2 separate regions of the Homo sapiens genome follow, and region 1 is linked to region 2. The links are contacts of gene promoters, found by promoter capture Hi-C in human tissues and cell types (Jung and others, 2019). All regions are on one chromosome and are shown on one strand. Each heading gives the region's core, a stretch centred on a gene start or on the middle of the fragment in contact. The rest is flanking DNA. Distances are from core to core; before and after follow the strand shown. Region 1 overlaps ITGBL1 (integrin subunit beta like 1). Region 2 holds the start of ITGBL1 (integrin subunit beta like 1).

Region 1 (5,906 bases), core at 138-2,637, 130 kb before region 2:
CCCACATGCACTGTGATCCAATAGCCTCCTGCAATTCATGAGCCCTACATCACCACCACTGTGAAGAGCCACATCATCCTAATTAAAATCTCCAACAGGCCTCTTCCCCACTATTCTCATCATCTCTTTGGAACACAGAAGCCACTCACTAGTCATGAGCTCTTTTATTACCACTGTGTTGACAGCAATGATAATGAAGAACATGAGCATGTATAATTAATAATAGAAAAAAATACCCTCAAGAGAATAGTGTTCACAAAATGTTTAGGAAATCCTCTGGAGCACAAGAGATTATCAGAAGAGGGAAACCCTTCTGCAATGGGAAGATTTAGCAGCAGGCTTTCCCCAGTCAGTCTGGAGAAGCCTTTGAAGTTGCACACTCATAATTAAATGGGACAGTTCTTTTATCTCCCTTTGCTGGCAAACTTTCAGGAGACCAGAGGAGTTTCTATCCATCTGCATGCACCAATGAGGCAGTCAAGCTTAGCAAGATGTATATGTGTATGTGTCTACCTTATGGGTTATCAAATAGAACTGGACTGAAAATCTATAACTCCATTTTTGCTAAATGATACCTTTTCAGATAGACTTCTGACTGCTTTCTTTTTCTTTGCACTATTAGACATCCTGGACTTACATATTTTATTTATTTGCATTTAGATTGCAAACTCCATGAAGTCAAAGTTCATGGCTGTCTCCTGTCCCCTACTGGCTCCTACTACACCAGTAGCCCAGATGTCACTCAGTCCCTAACAGACAGTATCTGCCCCACAGTATTTACAGTCAAAGATTTTTGAATCTACTAATTGATATTTAATTACAGACTACATTGCAGAATAACATTAAAGCCTATCAAAGAGTTAATGCACAAAATAACCCTGAGCACTGTATTATCCTGTTTTGTAATACATTAATATAGGTGCCCTAATGATAACTATCCTGTTCATTGTCAACAGCTCTGCTAGTTTTGTAGTCTCAGAGTTGAACTGAGTAGCTATCTAGAGCTAATGGTTCTCCTGGGTGAGGAATTAGACTAACTTTAAAAGAGTGGGTGCCCTCTCATCTCTAGTCTTTGCCAACTTTGGGAATTCTCTGGAGGTTTTCCAAGTTACCAGTAGGAGCACTGCAAATATAAGATGCTTTAGAATACACATTCAGTTTCTTTTACAGGGTATGTGAGAATCAGAAATCTTGAAAACAGGGAAATATGCATTTTTATTTTTTATTCATTACTTTTTAAATTTTTGTGGGTACATAGTAGATGCATATGTTTATGGGGTACATGGGATGTTTTGATACGGGCATGCAATGTGAAATAAGTACATCATGGAGAATGGGGTATCCATCCCCTCCAAGCATTTATCCTTTGTGTTACAAACAATCCAATTATACTCTTTACATTATTTAAAAATGTACAATTAAGTTATTGACTATAGTCACCCTATTGTGCTATCCAACAGTATGTCTTATTTATTCTTTCTAATTGCTTTTTTTTTTTTTTTACCCATTAACAAGCCCCACCTCCCCCTCCAGAAAAACAGGAATTGGAAGAGCCCTTACCTGAACAGAAGTCATCAGAATATCGGTCATAGACAGCTCTACAGTCCCTCTCATCACATTCACAGGTGTCCCCATGAATATCTCCCCAGTCCCCAGTCGGATCAACATCGTGACAGGTACATTCACCACATACACAAGTCCCTAGGTGGGAAGAAGAATTTTATAAGAATCCAGTCAAGAAAAACCATGAAAGAAAGCATTTCACATATCGCTTATTATTTTCTGTTTACTTTGTGTTTGAAAAAAACACATATATTCAGACAAAAATATTCTAAAAAGGAAAAACACCATCTAATATTGATAATAGAGATTCCTTAATAAACAAAAGTTATTATCTATTCTATAATTATGTGAGTTGGTGGAATGTGTCATTAGTATTATGTTAGTTTCCTTCAAAGATAACACTAAAACAATTTATATAAGATATAATCCTTTCCCCCAAGAAGCTTGCAATCTATTTGGCAAATAGAAAGCTAATTAGAAAGAAAAATTAACAAACACTAAAAACAATGTGCAAATATTTTGTAAACTAAGACATGAATGCTCTAAGAATTTGGAGAAAGAGGATCAATGAGTGTTGGAGTAATTAGCAGTGGATGGATTGGATATATAGGGATTAGAGGAAATGTTCTAGGAGACATTGGAGGTAGAACTAAGAGAAAGTCAAGAAAAAAAGACTGAGCAAAGAAGGGTAGGGATGGGCATAGGGACCCTGAGGTGCATGTTAAAAAATAAAAAAGACTAAGAAGTAAGGTTTGCTAGATCAGATGAGCCCAGATTATAGAGAATGTTGGAGATCAGATTGAGAGACATAAACTTGGTCATTTGCAGATTTGCAGAGGGAAATGCCCAGCTGTACATCATGTTTACTCTGTGTGGATTATCAGTAACTGTCTTTAGGGCAACCAGCTAATCATTTGATAGAGACATAAAGTTAAATCCTTTTCTTACCTCTTACATCAAAATAAGTACCAGTTGGATTAAAGATTTAAACGTACAAAATAAAACTGTATAATATGAACTAAACTCTTTTTATTCAAGACCCCAAAGCACAATTACTAAAAAAGGAAATTGAAAATTTCCATAAAAATTGAAAATTTTGGTTGGAAACAAAACACTGTAAAAAAAAGACTGACAAAGCTGAAACAAGTAGTTAATATGTCTGTAAAAGACAAAGAACAATTTCAAAAACATATAAATAAATCATAGAATTGAATATATAAAGGATTAATATGCCCAAAGTGAAATAGACAAAAGGAAAGAACAAAAGGAAATTTCATACAGAAATAATGACAGATAAAGATGAAAAATGTTTATCACTCAATCAACCACTACTAAGTGGGTAGCAGTGGCAGATCTTCAAAATAATCGTGATTGGCAATTATTTTAGAAGTCAGATCGTCAGAGGTGGAAAATATTGTTGGATCCAGACTCGGTAAAGGTGTGGGACAATGGGTACTTTCTTGCCCTGAAGGGGAGTACGAAATGGTACAACTTTCTGGGTAGCGATTTTGCAATATGTACTTTTTATATCTGTGTTATTATTCAGACTTATAGCTCACTTTAATTAATGTACCCAACAGAAAGAAAAAGTACACACAAGTGTATGTTCAGAAATATAAAATATAGTTGTATTTATGTTTTTGAAAAATTACTAGTGACCGAAATATTGTTCAATGGGGAATTAGCGCAGTAATGGTACACACATATGGACTACCTAGCAATCACTAAGTAATAAATTAGGTTTTTGCCCCATAAATATGGAAAGATAAACAACATATATCATGAAATAAAACTGTAAAATTACAAATCAGCACGTGCAGTATGATTTGATTTTTTTTCTTTAATAAGAAGGAAATACAGGGATAGGGCAGCCATAAAAATGAATTTTAATAAATAAATACGGACTGAAAGCTCATGTACCAAAATGTAAAAGGAGGTTACACCTGGAAGTTAGGTTTATGGGTCACTTTCTTATTTTTCTGTGTACTCTACTTTATTATCTAGATTTTAAAAAATGAATATGCATTGCTCTCATAATAGGATAAATGAGTTTGGTCAGGAGGAACAGGGACTAGGAGCTATGCAGATGTGACGAAGAAGCAGCTTCTCAGCCACGTGTAAAGGGGTCCACTATGAAACTCAATAAAACAGATGGGCAATAGAGGACATTTGTTCTATTAATGCTTATGTCTGCAACATTGGTTTTTTGGCCCCTGAAGATGGGGAAAAAGGAAGACAAGATAGGTATGTGCAGGGACCAGTGTGTTTCTATTACCTATGGATGCAATGATGCAGAAATGCTTTCAGGGTAGTCAGGAGTATTATCTTTTGAGAAAAAAAAATGACTCATCTCAGCGCCCACTTCTGCCCTGTCTTCAAGTACCCCTGAATCTCAGAAGCTGTGAGCCTCGCTCAGGCAAGCTGCTTCCCATTCTGCCTCTGCCATAGCTCCAGGTCAGAATGCTCCAAGCACAGCGAAGTGGGATGCAGGTGGCTTAGCTTATGTTTCTGAAGGACATCGTCTCTCACAGCCAATGTAACTCTGCTGCAGAACCTGACCTTAATCCACAGCCCAACCAATTCCATTTTCCACCTCTCTCTTTTTGACAGCCAAATAGTCATTTTCCACAGTACCAGAGTTCAAGCTTCATATACTTAAAAATGGTGACTGTGACCCCTACTGCATAAAAGGACTTATGCAGAAAACACATTGGACACAGGAAGGAGAACATCACACACTGGGGCCTGTTGTGATGTGGGGGTAGTGGGGAGGGGAAGCATTAGGAGATATACCTAATGTAAATGATAAGTTAATGGGTGCAGCACACCAACATGGCACATGTATACATATGTAACAAACATGCACGTTGTGCAATGCACCCTAGAACTTAAAGTATAATAATAATAAATAATAAAAAGAAACCATAAGGTAAATTAGTATGATATATAGTAAGATTTAGTCCCCACAAAGGAAGACTTCATGATTTTGTTCCAAGTTCCTGCCTTTTTATTTATTTTCTCTATGTAAAGAAATGTGGCACATTTTACTCCTCTATGTCAATTTCTGACAGGTGGTATGCTACGATTTCTGTATTAGCATTACCTATTGCAATGCATTATTCATGTATAGAAATGAAAAAAAGTTTTCCAGCTATCTAGATTTTTTTAGTTTTAAAGAAGTATAATCACTTTTTAATGCCATTGGATAGGCAATGAAAACTTTAGTATGGCTCTCTTTATCACTACAGCAAAGGGAAAATTAAGTATTTTCAAGGAATTTTAAAACTATGTTTAAACTGTTTGATTTTACATCAAAAGTTAGTTAACTACCTTTAAATTATAGTTTAGCAATATTAATATATTTGTTAACTTCCTTTGTAAAGTCAGTGTACATTTCCTATGGCTATTGGATACATACTTTGTATATCTATTGTATTCAATATCAAATTTTTATTATTGCACACGGAAGTTAAATTAGTCCATATCAAATCTGCATTTCAACCAAGCCTTCCATATACTCATAATTAAGACAAGAGGGTTTTCTGAATTCTCTACGGATAATTAGATGCTCATGCTGTAGATGGTTCTGTTAGTCAAGAGACATTTAACAGAAGTATCTAAAGGAATTGCCTTTTAGCTGCACTGTGCTATGTCTGGAGGGCTGCCAAAGAAATTACAGTCCCTAAGTTAACTGTTTATTCAGTGAAGCTTAAAGAATGACAGCAACTTTCTTATCTTTCTCTTTTCTACTCAATAAAAAACAAGACAGAAAAGATTGTTGGGATAGTAAATGTTGATTTACATCAAAGTAAATGGTTAGAAGATAACTTCCTCCCACACTAGAGGAAATACAAAGAAAAGAAGTGTTAACAATTAAAAGCTTTGTTTGCCTCCCCATTATGTAGTAACATGTATGAATGACACACCTCTGTTACTGCAGATTTTGCCATCTGGAGACGTGCATCTTCGCTTGCTTTCCCAGGGGGTGATATCGCACTGGAATTCACATTTATCTCCATGCCAACCAGCCTTGCAGTAGCAGTTTCCACAGTAACACTTCCCATGGCCTTTACCCAAAATGAATTTTATACAGTGAGGAAAAAAGCAACTTTCATAAGCAGAATTAACTTTCTATCTCTTTGTGATCATTTTTGCCTTCTGAAATACTGTCACAGCTCCACATTCCTTGCCTAAAATAATCAAATTATACAGCTTTCTCCAAACACATCATGGTTGTGCCTATACCTGCTTAATCATACAAAAAGAGCAAAGTGTCCTTTAACTTGGCCTAGACAGGGAACTGATTAAAAGTATTTTTAAAGAAATGACATGAATGACCATGA
Region 2 (6,888 bases), core at 2,721-5,220:
CCACACCCAGCCCAGAGCCCACACTTTTAATCACTCCATGATATAGTACTATAAGAGAAGGATTTTGTTTTCTTCTTAGAAGTTGGAGAGGTCTCCGAAAGTTACTCTATTTCTGGAAAGGACCTACAGGAACTTTCATGGAGGTGAAAGCACAGGGGCACATAAACATAGGAAACCTGCTATATTTCCATATTCCAGTGATACAACTGGAACTATCTCTTAAAAATAAAACTGAGAAGCTAAATTTGAAGCATGGAATACATCGACGGGCTCGCAAGGCAGCCCTAGGTGCTACTTGTAGGGATCTCCGCATGGGCCCCACAAACGTGGTCAGGGCATTTGCGGGGACAGATTCTGCTCAAGGCCCTGTAGAGTAAGTTTTGATGGGCATCAGTCAGCAAGATGAGAATAAAAAATGAACTTCATTATTCCATTCAGTATTAAAATAAAGAGAAGCATTTCATCTTCTACAGAAATGCATGCATAACCAAACAAAACCATGCTTGACTCAGTCCTGCATTTCGTATCAAGAAGGAAGGAATGCAGTGACTAAGATGCTATGAGTAAACAACATATCATTTTCTATGGGAGGGAAAAAGGAATGCTGTCTACCACAGCATTCCTTCTGCATAGTTTCTCGGAGAAAAGCACCAGCCTAGGTTCTTCAACAGGGAAAGTGAATCTGACGACACTCACAACTTTCACCAGTTAAAGGCTGCATCTTACCTCTTACTTCTCTAATAAAACAAGAGAAAAAGCCCTGGAAAATTTGTTCAAAATTCATGATATTGAAGAGGGCTTGCCAGAGGCCATAGGTCAGAGAAGCCAAGTAACAGTCAAATTTGGAATGAAATATTAGGCGGTAACTTAGCTTTCATTCCAAAGGGCTACCCTTAATTATACTGCGGTTTGTAGGACTGCGAAGTTAAATAACAAGTTGTGGCATCCAATATTTTAATTTTATTTATTAATTTATTTATTGAGATGAAGTCTCGCTCTGTTGCCCAGGCTGGAGTGCAGTGGCATGATCTTGGCTCTCTGCAACCTCTGCCTCCCAGGTTCAAGCAATTCTGCCTCGGCCTCCCAAGTAGCTGGGATTACAGGCACATGCCACGACGCCCAGCTAATTTTTGTATTTTTAGTAGAGACTGGGTTTCAGCAAGTTGGCGAGGCTGGTCTTGAACTCCTGACCTCAAGTGATTCACCTGCCTCGGCCTCCCAAAGTGCTGGGATTACAGGTGTGAGCCACCCCACCCAGCATTCAGTATTTTTAAAGAGTTGATCCACAGCCTTCACAGGGAAAACAAATCAAGTAGATGCACCTGCGCCCCTCCAAATTTCTTCTATGACTATTTTTTGCATTGCCAAGCAGCCTGCATATTAAGTAACTTATACACTACTGGGCCCAGGTTCCGAGAAAAAAATATTTTGCTATAAACTCATTCTTGATCTTTCTATGTTAGTGTTGGCTGTCTTATTATTCTTAGCTACATTGAGGGTAAAATAAGTGGCTGGTTTTTCCTACAAATTTGCCAAACCCTGGCTGGAATGCATTGTGTTGTGCTTTCACTAATGGAGTTCTGTGTCACTCACAAGGCACTAATTGAGGCTCTTGGCCTTAAGTAAAACGACACAGGTAAAGAGGTTAAGGGTGTTCTCTGGGAAGGAATTTTTTGACCCTTTCCAATATCAGAACCTGAATCACTCCTTAAAAATGTGCAAGGGAAATGAATGTATTTTCACTCCACCCTCAGAAAATACCAAGTTTCATTGCAACTCAAAAATTCAAGCAGCTAGAACAATGCAAGAACAGTCATTCTAAGTAAATATGTGCCCGTTTACTTTTTTCCTTGTTACAGTTTTCTGATATGCACTCCTGCCTGTGAACTATATTCTAATAATGAGAGGGCAAATCAGGCTTCAAAGACAAAACCTGCCTCCCTAGAATGGAGGAAAATAATACATTCCCCCTCCCACTGTTTCCTATGTAAAATAAAATACAGGCCTAAGATCTACAAATATTATCATTAACATTCTTGATAGGGATAGGAGAACCCAGTAAAATAACTCCATTTGTGAGGACATTGGGGAATTTAGTCTATAATGAGGAACTTTAGAGGCAAGTGAGATTTTAGAATTAAGCAAATGACGGCCAGGTGCAGTGGCTCACGCCTGTAATCCCAACACTTTGGGAAGCTCAGGAGGGAGGATAGCTTGATTCCAGGAGTTGGGGGGGGGGGGGGGGACCAGCCAGGGCAACATAGCAAGATCCCAACTTTAAAAAATCATAATTACAATAAAATATATAATTAAGTGAATGAATTTTTAAAACTTTACTTCCATTCAAGTTCAGAGCCTGGGGGATAAAAGTGTTGTGATAAATGATGCCAGAATTAACTAGCCAAAGTGTGACAATCGCAGTAACTTAATTGGTGCTTATGTGAAGGGAGGCGTGTCCCCACCCTTCACTCTTCTAGGGAGTGGCAGAAATCCCAGAAGAGGAGTTTCGACCTCCCGAGGGAGGAGACAGCGCCGCCCTCTTACCTGCACAGGTGCTCCCGTCGTAGGTCTCGCACACCCACTCATGGCACTCACACAGGGGCCCGAAGAACATGCCCGGCTCAGTCACGTGGCAGATGCAGACGCCGCAGTCGCAGCGGCCCCGGCCGTGGCACAGCGCGGCCCCCGGGGGCTGCCCAGGTGCGCGGCAGCGTCGCTCCGACTCGGCCCGGGACAGCCTGCAGGCGGCGCCCGGCCAGCTCCTGCGCGGGCGACAAGCAACCGGCAGGCCGGGTCAGACGCGGACGCCGCCCCCTGCTCCGAACCCACGTTTCCTCCCCAGTGTCCCCTCCAGGTGCAGACGTACAACCCCAAGAACAGGACGCCTGAGGCCCACATCTCTCTGGGGTCCAAGCGCTGCCTGGAAGGGCTGTATTTTCCCAAGCAAACAGGTATCACCCACCAGAGAAATGACCAGGGCCCAAAATGTGTAATGGGTGACCTGCCCCCGGACACAGGTCCTTCCTCCAGGTGGACAGAGGTGAACTGCCCTGCTCTTTGGTAGTTTATCACTAAATCTTATATGCACATTTAGATTAAATACAAAGTAATCCAAGGTACGGCACTCAGCTGACTTTTCAGTTCTCCTTTAAAAAACGTCCCACTGCTATCTGATGGCCAATGGGCACTTATATTACAGAAGAGAAAACGTGAATCTATAGAAAGAGTTAGACATGCTATGATAGCATCGGGCATAATTTGCATTAAGCAGTCTTTAGGAACTCTACTTTTAAAAAGTTTAGTTTCACTATTGCAGTGTGCCTCACTCAGTCTCTTTCAGGATGATACAAAATGTAACACAGACCTCCTGTTGCTGCCCTTGGGAAACAGATCATTCTGCTTTACATGTTGTGAGAAGATACTGGTACACATAGCATTTTAACTCACAGCAGGAATTCCTCCTGATATGTATTTGCAGAAAAGAAAATTATATTTTTATTCAATGATTGCATTTTTCCAAAGGAAAAGCAAAAGGACAGACATGAGGCAATACACGCTGTAGATATAAGGAGAGGAAAAGGAACAGGTTGAAAACAGTTTATCCCTTGTCCAATTTAATAACAGCTCTTGGCTTAGGGCAGCCATCCTGCAAGCTTGAGCCCTGCCACATAAGCAGGGCAGGTCTGTACTGAAGAATAACAAACCAAACTTACCTCAGAGATGGCGAGAAGCTTTGAGGAACAGCTGACAACCCAGCAAAGAGAAGGGAGGACGCCAGCAGCAAGAAGTTCCTGAAGCCTGGGGGACGCATGCTGAGCTCCTGGGCTGCTCCGGGCGAGCTGCACTTCTGCAAGGTGGGGTTCACCGAGGGAGGCGGCAGGAGGGAGAGGTGCCACCAGCAGATGGCTGGGCAGACGGACCCACGGACACCCAGGCTTGCAGGTCCGGGGCTCCAGCCGGAGTTGCAATTGCGTTGATGAGCTGCCTGCGAGGATTTGGGCAGCGGCACTGCTCTGGGCGGGGTGCTGGTGCCAAACCCCTCAGTGGAGAGTCTAGGCAGGGAAGTAATTAGAAACAGTTGTACAAGCAGATGGTTTATTTTGACATTAAAAAAAAAAAAAGTGTCCTGTTCACAGATTTCAAGTACGGGCCACAGAAATATTTGACAAGAGAATATTTGGACTGGCCGATATTAAAGAAACCTTTAAAATAATCCCTGAGTTGTGGAGAAGGGTGAGGCCAGTGACAGTAGTGGGAACACTTGGGTAGGGAATTACTTTCACCACACGCTTTTAAAGTAGATGCACTCTTTGGAGTTTGGGTTGGGGCCGGGGCAAGGAAATCTGACAAACACAACTTTTTCTTGCATTTATTATCCTTTGATTTAAACTGGATATTTCATTTCTTTAGTCTTTAAAAAGCGTGTCATGCTTCCAGCTGTTTAGGCCAGTAGCTTATCACACCACAATTTGTTGGTGACTTGGACAGTTTAAATTGTAGTTGTCTCAAATTCACCCCATTCTCCCCATATATCAAATGTGAGAAAAGAAAATTAAATGTTTATTTATAGCACAAATTGCACTGAAAAACAATTGGTGTCATTTACTAAGCACCTACTATGTGCCAGTCATTTAGTATGTTTTCTCTAATTATGACAATAATCACACATTTATTTATGCATTAGCAAATGGGGATTTAGCATCTATCAGGTGCCAGGTTTTGTGCAAGACAGAATGAATATAACAGAGAACTAAGGAGACATGATCCCTGCTCTCTCAGAGTCCAATGAGCTAGAAAGACATTAATCAACACAAAACCACAAAAAAAAAGAACAAAGGGTTGCAAGTGCAGTGAGAAGTTACTTCCAGATGAGATACAGGCACTTGATCTAATCAAAGATGGTAGCATCTGAACAAAAAACTGAAAAAAGTATTGAATTAAATTGGGTAGAAATAAGAAGGAGATGGAAGAGAACAGGGAGACATTCTTACTCCCATTTTAAAGATAAAGAAACTGAGGGCAAAGAGGTCAACTGACTTGCTCAAATTCACAGAGGAAGTTAGTCGTATTTCAGCTGAAATCCAAAGTGCATACACTATCCCCTACATTTATGGTCATCTGGGAAAATGTGTAGAGGGTTATATGGAAGGGGGAAAACATTTTTCATTCACCCTAAGAAGAGCACTGTACATGCAATCCTTCCTCATGAAATAGAACCATCCAAGAATCATCTGTGGTCCCAGATCCTTAAAATCAGGGATGAGCCATAATAGGATGGGATTTCTCCCTGTCCTTTATATATAAGTAGGTATAAGGGTAAGACCACCACAACACTAGCCTGCTGGAGCAAGAAGACGATGAAGGTCCTCTAATCATAGTACATTTCTGTTTCTACCCCAATCTCCACCCTGTAATAGGGGAGGTTTTGCATGAGGCCCATCTGTGTGTCCCCCCACCCCCCAACCCCTACCCACACAATTTAACCTTTTTCAAATAGCTGATTTTCTGGCCACACTTAGATACAGGTGTGTACACACTGGTGGAGTCTTCTATTGCAAGGACAGACTGGGGACAGGTATGCACAGTTTTGGGAGGCTGTCTGGACAGGTAATTCTGGGGTCTTGGATAACCAAAGTGCGGCTTAGGAAAAAAGGACACAGGTTCTGAGTTGGCAGGTTCCCTAAGTCACATGAACTGCAGCCTGTGGGGGAAGGGCCTGTCTAAAAGAGACAGAATGGGAATTACTAAGTCAGTTGTTCTTAAAGCGTGGTCCATGGACCTGCAGCAACATCAGCATCATTTGGGAACTTATGGAAATGCAACTTCTCAGGCCCCAACCCCAGCTCTAAGGAATCACAGAGTGCATTTGAATAATATCCCAAGATATCTATTTTTACATAATAATAGCTTGAGAAGTTTGCAAAGCACAGGGCTCAGGGCTGACGCCTGAGGGTGCCTGGATCTAAGAGTGGAATTTCCACCCACCTTTAGTACAAATTCTAGAGTTACATTTTATCCTGCCCACGTGTGATAGTACAAGGACATAGGAACAGGCTTTCCTGTCAACATCTAGAAACCTAGTGACTCAGAGAATGTGGTAATGATAGAAGGGAAGTATCTATTCCAAAGCCCAACTAGGAATTTGCAATAAAAACATGGAAGCTTTAATAAATGAGTCATGTATTGTTTACTCCTTGCATATTTTCTGAGGGAAAATTTATTATGAAATAGGGACTTGATATTTGAACATTTTTAATGGATTTAAGTGATTTTTTAACCTGTAGTATTTTCATACAGTGTAGTATTCAATAAGCAATATTCTCTTTAATATATTATTCACCTTTGAAATGAAGTTAGTATGTACTAGGTAACTGAGAGAATATAAATGTTCAGATCATTACATTACTATGACTCAGAAATAATATTCCCAGTCAGTTGAAATAGTTATATTGTGGCTGACTTGGTGACTCAGTCGAAAGTCTTGGATCCACAGAAACTCTGTCAAAATCAAAGGGTAACTTTAAATTTATGCCTTTTAGCATTCTTTTTTTTTTTTTTTAACCAAAGTATTGAATGCCTTGGAAACACCTACTCCTTCCATTTTCCCAGTTTTCAGAACCTCAAGGACGCACATGTGCCAAGAAAGGTCCTGAGTTTCTCACTTCTGCTGGCTGGGGACACAGCAGTAGGTTGGATGCATAATGAAGGGTGCCTGAAAGGACCGGGTGCATCTGGAACTGAATTCAAAAAGATTGAAAACACCCTAGTCCTTGAATGGAGTCCTTCAGTCCTCAGGTTACACAATCAGAGAATTTCAGCCTTCAAGGTATTTTTTAAAGGTTGTCTAGTTCAAAACTAAATTTGTTGATAACATACCGTATATTTGCC

What was found. The method cuts DNA at HindIII sites, captures the fragments that hold promoters and counts their contacts. A contact is called where the count stands out against the background at its distance.
Region 1: a fragment that was not itself captured here is called in contact with the fragment with the promoter of ITGBL1 in region 2 in 1 of the 25 tissues and cell types used here (H1 embryonic stem cells).

Annotation. Positions count from the first base shown.
Region 1 is chr13:101,579,011-101,584,916 of GRCh38, reverse strand. ITGBL1 (integrin subunit beta like 1) reads right to left here. Exons shown (of 11, transcript NM_004791.3): 5 at 5,490-5,630; 6 at 1,561-1,701. Among named protein-coding and RNA genes, the nearest start is that of ITGBL1, 130 kb to the right of the region's middle. RefSeq lists a silencer at 5,185-5,479. The HindIII fragment of the contact is 3,440 bases long and covers 1-3,107 here.
Region 2 is chr13:101,449,757-101,456,644 of GRCh38, reverse strand. ITGBL1 (integrin subunit beta like 1) reads right to left here and starts at 3,970. Exons shown (of 11, transcript NM_004791.3): 1 at 3,714-3,970; 2 at 2,545-2,762. The coding sequence starts at 3,811. RefSeq lists enhancers at 3,888-4,392, 5,726-6,888. The HindIII fragment of the contact is 7,410 bases long and covers 1-6,658 here.